Linked DNA regions of Homo sapiens: region 2 is linked to region 1. The links are contacts of gene promoters, found by promoter capture Hi-C in blood cells and fetal thymus (Javierre and others, 2016). All regions are on one chromosome and are shown on one strand. The core of a region is centred on a gene start or on the middle of the fragment in contact, and the rest is flanking DNA. Distances in the headings are between cores, read along the strand shown.

Evidence for each region. The method cuts DNA at HindIII sites, captures the fragments that hold promoters and counts their contacts. A CHiCAGO score of 5 or more calls a contact.
Region 2: a contact is called between a fragment that was not itself captured here and the fragment with the promoter of KRTAP1-5 in region 1, in 5 of 17 cell types (total CD4 T cells, non-activated CD4 T cells, total CD8 T cells and 2 more). The highest score is 9.2, in total CD4 T cells.

The regions. Positions count from the first base shown.
Region 1 is chr17:41,024,924-41,029,158 of GRCh38, forward strand. KRTAP1-5 (keratin associated protein 1-5) reads right to left here and starts at 2,285. Exons shown (of 1, transcript NM_031957.2): 1 at 1,103-2,285. The coding sequence starts at 2,232. The coding sequence ends at 1,708. The HindIII fragment of the contact is 9,785 bases long and covers 1-3,922 here.
Region 2 is chr17:41,537,406-41,541,640 of GRCh38, forward strand. No RefSeq gene overlaps it. Among named protein-coding and RNA genes, the nearest start is that of KRT19, 11 kb to the left of the region's middle. RefSeq lists an enhancer at 1,768-2,388. The HindIII fragment of the contact is 5,266 bases long and covers 1-4,235 here.

The DNA of each region.
Region 1 (4,235 bases), core at 1,035-3,534:
ATAAAGCTGAGTATCGTAGGGAGGATGTGGAGTTCTGAGACCACAACTTAACCAGCAGCACAGAGTAACTTATTCTGAAGCCCACAGTCTCTGAAATAGCCGTCTTTAAATCTTACAAACTTTCCCACACGTTTCTTTATATCTATTTTCTTAATTTCATTCTCTCCATAAATTTTGGAGTCAGACAGAGTTGCATTCAGATTTCAGTTTTGTTTCTAAACTTATGAGCTATGTGACTGTAAGCAAGCTATTTAACTTCTTTTAGACTTACTTATCTACAAGCCAGGATCACAATATCTATTTCACAGGATCAGTATAGATGTTATGTGAAGCAAAGTTCGCATGATGTGTACCTGGCACATGCACAGCATATGGTACTAACAAGGCCACGCTGGTTCACCTCCTTTCCCTTCAGGTGTGTCTTCTCCATCACTCTTCCTCCTTTTCTTTCAGCCTCTCATACCTAGCCTTTTTCACTGTGTCTTCTCTCTGTCTTTTCTCCTATATTTTGTTCTCTTCTCCCCCTTTTCATTCTTGTCTCCATCCTTCGATACCTTAATTCATCTTGCTTCATCCCTTTCGTTGTCCACCTACCCTTACATGGCCAATGATCCTCAATAAAAGAAAAGCTCCCACATTTGCTTTCGACTTGGAAATATGTGTCTTTTTACCATTACTTAACTTTTTAATGCACTTTATGTCTTCTTTGGTGTCATATATAGGAAATTGCCATTTTGAGAGCTTGCTGCAGTTTATTGCATAGTGTAATGGAGTGCAGTAGCATGATCTTAGCTCACTGAAACCTCTGCCTCCTGGGTTCAAGCGATTCTCCTTCCTCAGCCTCCCAAGTAGCTGGGACTACAGGTGTGCACTACCACGCCCAGCTAATTTTTTTTTTTTTTTTTTGTATTTTTAGTAGAGACAGGGTTTCACCATGTTGCCCAGGCTGGTCTCAAACTCGTGAGCTCAGGTAATCCACTCACCTCAGCCTCCCAAAATGCTAGGATTACAGGTGTGAACCACTGCTCTTGGCCTCAAGTAGACATTCTTGAATTATAAGCAGTTAAACCAGGTGATGTACAAGTGAAAACAAAGACAATGGTTTCTTTGCCTAGTATATAATATTTATTAAGAAATGACAGAAGACATTGTATCACAGATATAACTGAAATATCCAGCAGGCAAGATCATTATGATCCAAAAACCAAGGGATGGATCAGATGTTAAAATGTGGAAAGTCCAGCCTACTTCTTAGAAGCTGAATGTTGGGTGATGAGCTTCCATTCTCTCTGGTGACTTGAGGAATGTCACTTGGCTATAATTTGGTGTCTTTGATGTTGCAAAAAATTTTAGGTAAACAAGATAAAATAGATTATAAAGCATGGAAACATTAGACTTGTGGATAGTTCTCATGGATAAATTCCACAACATGTCAGTAATTTTTAATCCTGCAGAAATATCAGAAATAGTATATCCCAAGCAAATTGATGATCAGCAGGTGGCTTTGTAGCATTTCTGTGTCCCCAGTGAAGGGTCAAGGTATTCATTGTAGAATGGAATCAGATAGAATTGTGAGCTCATATACTTAGTAGTCTCCATCACAAGCAATGCAAAGTCTGAGAACTTGTTAGTGGTCCAGAGGTGGTCAAGGGATGAACAGTTCAGAGACACTGTGACCTAGGCAATTGAAAATAAGCAAACTGGCTTTCAGCAAGTGGGCTCACAGCAGCAGACTGGGCGGCAGCAGGACTGTCCACAGTAGGACGGGCGGCAGCAGGAGGCCTGGGCATGGTGCAGTTGGCAGCAGGATGGGGGCGTGCAGCTCACCACACAGCAGGGGGGTAGGTAGGTGCCCTCCACACGACTGTCTGGGCGGCACCACCTGATACGGGTGCTCACAGCTCCACTGCTGCCCTCCTGGCCATAGCTGATGCCACCACCAATGCCACAGCCAGTTCCGCAGGAGCTGATCTGGCAGCAGCTTGGCTGGCAGCAGCTGGTCTCACAGCAGCTTGGCTGGCAGCAGCTGGTCTCACAGCAGCTTGGCTGGCAGCAACTGGAGCTGCAGGTCCCACTGGTTGAGAAGCTGGGAAATCCGCAGAAGCTAGTCTGGCAGCTGCGTGGCTGGCAGCAGCTGGTCTCACAGCAGCTTGGCTGGCAGCAGCTGGAGCCACAGGTCCCACTGATGGAGAAGCTGGGATATCCACAGAAGCTGGTCTGGCAGCAGGTCATGGTGTCAGAAGTTGGGTTAAGAGTTAGGTTGCTTGGAGGAGTTTCTGAGGTTTGGTGGTGACTTCCACGTTGGTCCTTTTATATATCTGAACCAGCTGCTGTTTACAAAATTGTTAACATATTTTCTTTGTTTTTGTTTAAATTTGTTACTCCGTGGATCTCTGATTGGCTTATGTTGAAATACTTGTGACACATTATGAGCAATAGTTTAGAAATTACTGTTTTATAGTTTCTTCTGGACTCCTCATATCAGTCCTTTGCTCTTTGGAATATGTTTGTGGTTTCCCATGTTCAAAGAGTACTTCCATTTTAGTCCAAATGAATGCTCTCATTTTACATAATAGTTATTCCACGTGACAATCTATCCATACCTCTAAGGCTAAGAGTAATAATTGTGCTGTTATATTTAACTATTATTTTTTCCTCCTAGATATATAGACTAAATTTTATTGAATTTTGGATATCTGGATATCTACTGAACTGAAGGAATACCTTTGGTCATACATAATTCGCAGATTTCACCTTTTTTTGTTCCAATGTCTTATTGAATTACCGATTATAGTTCCTTTGATTTCAACCAATTTGGAATGTGTGACTATTATTCCTGTTCCAGACCAGAAATCTGTTCTTGGGAACCAAACTGACATAGTATTTAGGAAGGTATCCAGCAGAGTCCTTAGTTTGTGGTAGAACCTTAATAAATGTTTACTGAATCTGATTCAATAAATGTTTATTGAATAGGTGGAGTAAAAGGCTTGATTCATGGATATCAATACCACTCAAACATGATTAAAGAGAACTTTCAAGCTGTAGTACTTCTCATGAAAGAGTCTTGTTATTTGCTGTAAAGAGACTAGGAAATGTGTTTTTTGGTTTATTTTATTTTATTTTTTGGATTTAGTAGTGGAACCGGGCTCGGGAAAAAATATCTAGGAGTTATGACACTTTGAAAAATGTACTGCCATCTACTTTATTCCTCTTGGAAATTGCATAATTTTGTGTGTAATCCATCATTGCTACCAATTAAATATAGAGGTAAGTTCTGGGAGCTTGTAAATAATGTGGAAAACGTGTTTCTTTCTATATTTGCATCCTATTGTATTTTGTGTATTACACTCTAATGCCTAATGAAGAATTTAAAAATTAAATGGTAAAATATGTTTTGTTTTGTTCTAGGTTGTGTTAATTTTTTTTTTTGAGACAGAGTCTTGCTTGTTGCCCAGGCTGGAGTGCAGTGGCGTGATCTTGGCTCACTGCAAGCTCTGCCTCCCAGGTTCACGCCATACTCCTGCCTCAGCCTCCCAAGTAGCTGGGACTGCAGGCACCCACGACCACACCTGACTAATTTTTTTTTTGTATTTTTAGTAAAGACTGGGTTTCACCATATTAGTCAGGATGGTCTCAATCTCCTGACCTCGTGATCCACCCATCTCAGCCTCCCAAAGTGCTGGGATTACAGGCGTAAGCCACCGTGTCCAGCGTGTTAACTTCTTAAGAGAATATCTTTTAAGTTGGGTTGCAAAGTGCAAAATATAATCGAGCTGTTTCAGATTTCTAACACTTCTGTCTGACAAATGGCAATGGTAGAACTCAGCGGGTGCTCTCTATAGCTGTTTCTTCTACTATCATTTAGACCAAAGATACACCTTATGCATACGTACATCAAATGAAGGTGAATAGTGGGAGTTGAAGCTTAGAGAGCAATTCAAGGATCAGTGGGAAGAATGTGAAAGGCTAAGGTGTAGAAATTAAACCTAAATTCTCTTGGAAAATAGGTAGTATCTAGTAGCTATTTTTAAATCTATTTAGAAGGTAATGCAATTTCTTTAGATTTTGGGGCATAAATGAAGGAGAACATTTAGTATATTAAATGGAAGGAGACAAAAGATGGTAGAATTACATTTAGATAGAAATCAATAGCTTTGATCAACCTTAACATTTTAGCTAAAGGTCAACCTTTATTGGTCTAGACCTAATCATAATAGATTAGAGCATGTAAATAT
Region 2 (4,235 bases), core at 765-3,264, 510 kb after region 1:
GGCCTCTCTGAGGAGGTGACACATGAACAGAGACCTGAATGAGGCAAAGGAGCCCTCAGATCCCCAGGGAAGATTATTCCAAGCCAAGGGCACAGCAAAGCCAAAATCCCTAAGGAAGAGGGAGCTTGGTCTGTTCAGGCAACACCAAGAAGTCCCAGTGGTTAAGAGGGGTGAGCCAGAATGACAGTGTGCAGGAGATGAGCCCAGGGGAGGCCAGGACAGAGCACTCGGTGTCTGCGGTCTAATGGAGGCGCTGGCTTTTATCTTGAGAGTAATGGTGCTTTGAGCAGAGGAGCACTGGGACGCCCTCCCCACCCCTGGCTGCTCCCTGTGGAATAGACCGTGGGGCCCAAAGAGCTGGAGATCTAATAAGAGGCTCTAATGGAGTTCAGGTGAGAGACACTGGGGGCTTGTTCTGGGGAGACATCAGAGGACTTCAGGAACAGTGGCCTGGTGCAAGGGATATCCCGAGGGCAGAGCCAGCAGGTCAGGCTGACGATTCATGGGGAGGACAAGGGAAGGAGAGAATCTTGCATGGCTCCTGGTTGAGGTGTGAGCCTCCTATTTGCACTGAGGTCAGGAAGCTGGTCTGGGACGGTGGTTTATCTAATCCACCTCCAGGAAAGGAATCACACCGGGGCCCTCCTAGATCTGTGTTGGAACGCGTCCTGGCAGAATTAGGTTCTACTAACCAAGCAATGACTGTACCCCGATCTCTGCCAGCGCTGATGCCTGCTGAGGGAGGGGAAGGACAAGGGCTGTGTCCACCTGGGCCCTGCCTTCACAGACGGAGCCCACAGTTAGGGGTTGGTATGAAAGAGGCGACTTTCTTTTTTTTTTTTTTTTTTTTCTTTTTTTTTTTTGAGACAGAGTCTTACTCCATCACCCAAGCTGGAATGCAGTGGCGCAATCTTGGCTCAGTGCAACTTCTGCCTCTTGGGTTCAAGTGATTCTCCTGCCTCAGCCTCCTGAATAGCTGGGATTACAGGTGCCTGCCATCACACCTGGCTAATTTTTATATTGTTAGTAGAGGCAGCGTTTCACCATGTTGGCCAGGCTGGTCTCAAACTCCTGACCTCAAGTGATCCACCCACCTCAGCCTTCCAAACTGCTGGGATTACTGGCGTGAGCCACTGCGCCCAGCCAAGAGACAGATGATTTCTAATGAAGATCTGTGTTTTCTACATTTTCAAAAAAGCAGCAGTGAGCATGTCTCACCTCTAGCATGGGTTGAGGGGAGTGCTTATTATTTTCAATTCTGACTCATTCCAGGCTCCACTGGCTTTAGGCTGGCAAGCGGGGCCTTGCAGACTTGGGGGAGGGGTGGTCAGGTTAGTGAGTTTCTGGACCAGGTGAGCAGGGGGTTGGGGCAGAAGGGGCATTCCTAACAGCAGCTGGAAGGAGCTTCAGAGCTGCTCTGGAGACAGGATGCTGAGGCCCTGCTCATCCCGGCTCCAACCGGCTGCAGGATAAACATTCATCAGGCAGAAACCACAGAGAATCACATAGCGAGATGGGCTGCCAGGAGCTGGGAATACCAGGAATGCCCAGGCCTGGGGACTAAGGGGGAGATGAGGGAGAACGGGGGAGATCCCCTTTGCCCCAAGGAAGAGCAGCTGACGCCTGATCCCATGAGAGGGGCCTGGTATCTGAAGCGCTTTTTGAAGTCAGTTGAAAAGGAACACTATCCCACCTCAAAGACACACACACAGAGTATTAACAGAAGACAAAGCCTCACCGGCTCCCTTAGGCATCTCACGTGCATTCCAGGCAGGAACTACCCAGTGCCAGCATCAGCCCTCAGCAGGCTGCCCAATTACCAGCCCAAGGCCTACCAGCCGTGCCAGCACCAGGGAGGCACGGGGGATGCACCAAGGAACCACAGTGCCAGGAAGCATCTTCTGCCCTCCCCTGGCTCAGTCCTGCCAAGACCCTTCCCCCTCCAGTGGAATGTGCTGGAGTTGGAGAGGAAAGTGCTTCCTCCAAAGTCCTTGCCTGGGATTAGGGCTGGAGCCTGTGGGGATGAGAAGATCCACCAGAGATATCTGTCCTCGCTGAGTAAACATACAATGAGGACCTGGTACACAGAAACCGAACAAACACATCCCAACAGGGATATCCATGTCTGGGGCTTCAGAAGAAAGGGCTGGAGCATGGGGAGAAGAGAGGAGGCTTCACGAACCCCAAGTTTCCCATTCCTGCCATGTCCATGTTACCTCATCCTTATCCTCACCTTGACTGCTAAGAAACATAGTAAGCATCTTCTTGGCCGTGCACAGTGGCTCACACCTGTAATCCCAGCACTTTGGGAGGCCAAGGCAGGTGGATCACCTGAGGTCGGGAGTTCAAGACCAGCCTGACCAACATGGCGAAACCCCATCTCTACTAAAACTACAAAAATTAGCTGGGCATGGTGGTGAGTGCCTGTAATCCCAGCTACTAGGGAGGCTGAGGCAGGAAGAATTGCTTGAGCCTGGGAAGCAGAGCTTGCAGTGAGCCGAGATAGAGCCACTGCACTCCAGCCTGGGCAACAGAGCAAGACTCTGTCTCAAAAAAAAAAAGAAAAAGAAAAAGAAACATAATAAGCATCTAAAAGCCCAGCAAGATGATTTAGACAAAACTCCTACACTTGTAGGATGGGGGCATAGAAATCTTCTAGCCCAGAGATCTTCAAGCCTCGCCTGCTAAGCCCTAAGCAGAGAGGTGGGAGCTGAGCGGATCTGCTGTGACCACCCACACTCACACACACTTACACACCTCACACAGTATTCACACCTACTCACACATGCACACACATGCATACACATGCTCACACATACACTCACACACTCCCAGGCCTTCTCACACATGCATTCACACTGGTTTTATATACTCAGCTTTCTGTGAGATTTTGCTTCAGCAAAGATTCTCCCTCTTTTAAAGCCCAAACACGTGCTTCAGCCTACCTCCAGCAGTTTATATAGGTCAGAAAACTGAGAGAGAGTGGGGCCTCAGCCTGCCTAAAGTCCCACAGCTGGTGTCCTGCTCAGCAGAAACCAGCAGGCAGGTGCCCTGGAGCCAGGATGTCTGTCCCCAGGGGACGACCTGAGCTCGGGGAAGAGAAAGAGGTAAACACTGTAGGCTCCTGACAAAGGCAGGAGGCAGGCCAGGGTCAGAGGAGGGACATAGACCCGGGGCTGCTGGAGCTCAGATGGAGGGCACCCTGAGTGAGGGATCAAGGCCTGGGTAAGCAGGGAGGGCGCCCTGGAGGAGGGGGCCCTTCACAGCCCCAGGGTGAGCCACAGTAAATGGTGCCTAGAGTAAGGACATGGAGGTGGCGGATAGTGGGAAGTTCCAGTAAAAAAGAAATCTTATAAAAACAGGCTAAATGTATTGGCCTCTTCCTCTATGCCTAACTCTGTTCGAGTATGTGGCATCCATGAACTTGTTTAAATCATCGAAGCTCCCCTATGCTGTGGACACTGTCATCACTCCCATTTTGCCAACTAGGAAACTGAGAGCTACTTGCTTAAGCTGAGTTTGGTAAGGCACCGGGCTGGGATTTGAACTCACAAGGTCTGGGCCTGCACCTTGCGGTCTAACCACTGTGTCAAAGGAAAACCAGGGAGCAGAGGCTGCAGAGCTGGTTCGAATCAGACAACAAAGGGCCTAGCAGGTCAAGCCACTAGATTTGATTTTTTATTTTTTTCCTGCAGAAGCCAACAGTGATTGTTTGAGCCAGGAGATGATACATGCAAAGTACCAGGTGAGTCAGACAGCAGGTTTCCTGAGGCTGGAAACACAGGGCTATCACCCAGCTGGGTCAACAGCCCTGTCCCAGCACCCCCTCACTCCTTCCCTCTGCTGCCCCACCATCATCGCCTTATCACCTCAAGACCAAAGGACCACAGCCGCCTCCCCCAGAGCTGACCTACCCCGGCAACTCACCCCAGCACCAGGCTCATCTGTCTCAAGCCAGCTTTGATCAAATCCCTGCTCACAAATTCTCACAGTCAGCCTGTTCTTTACAGCAGCAACTCGCCATGTGGTCCTTCCACCCCCAGGACAGAACCCATGGAGAGGCGAGCCAGGGTTACTGAATCGAGTCTTTGTGGATGAACCTGCACCTTTAATAAGTCTGAATTTTTAATAAGTTCTCCAGGTGATTCTGAGGCTCACTATAGTGTGAGAACCACTAGCCTAACGCATGAGATCCATGAGATATGGGAGAGGCACAAAGATGGAGGGCCCCCTGA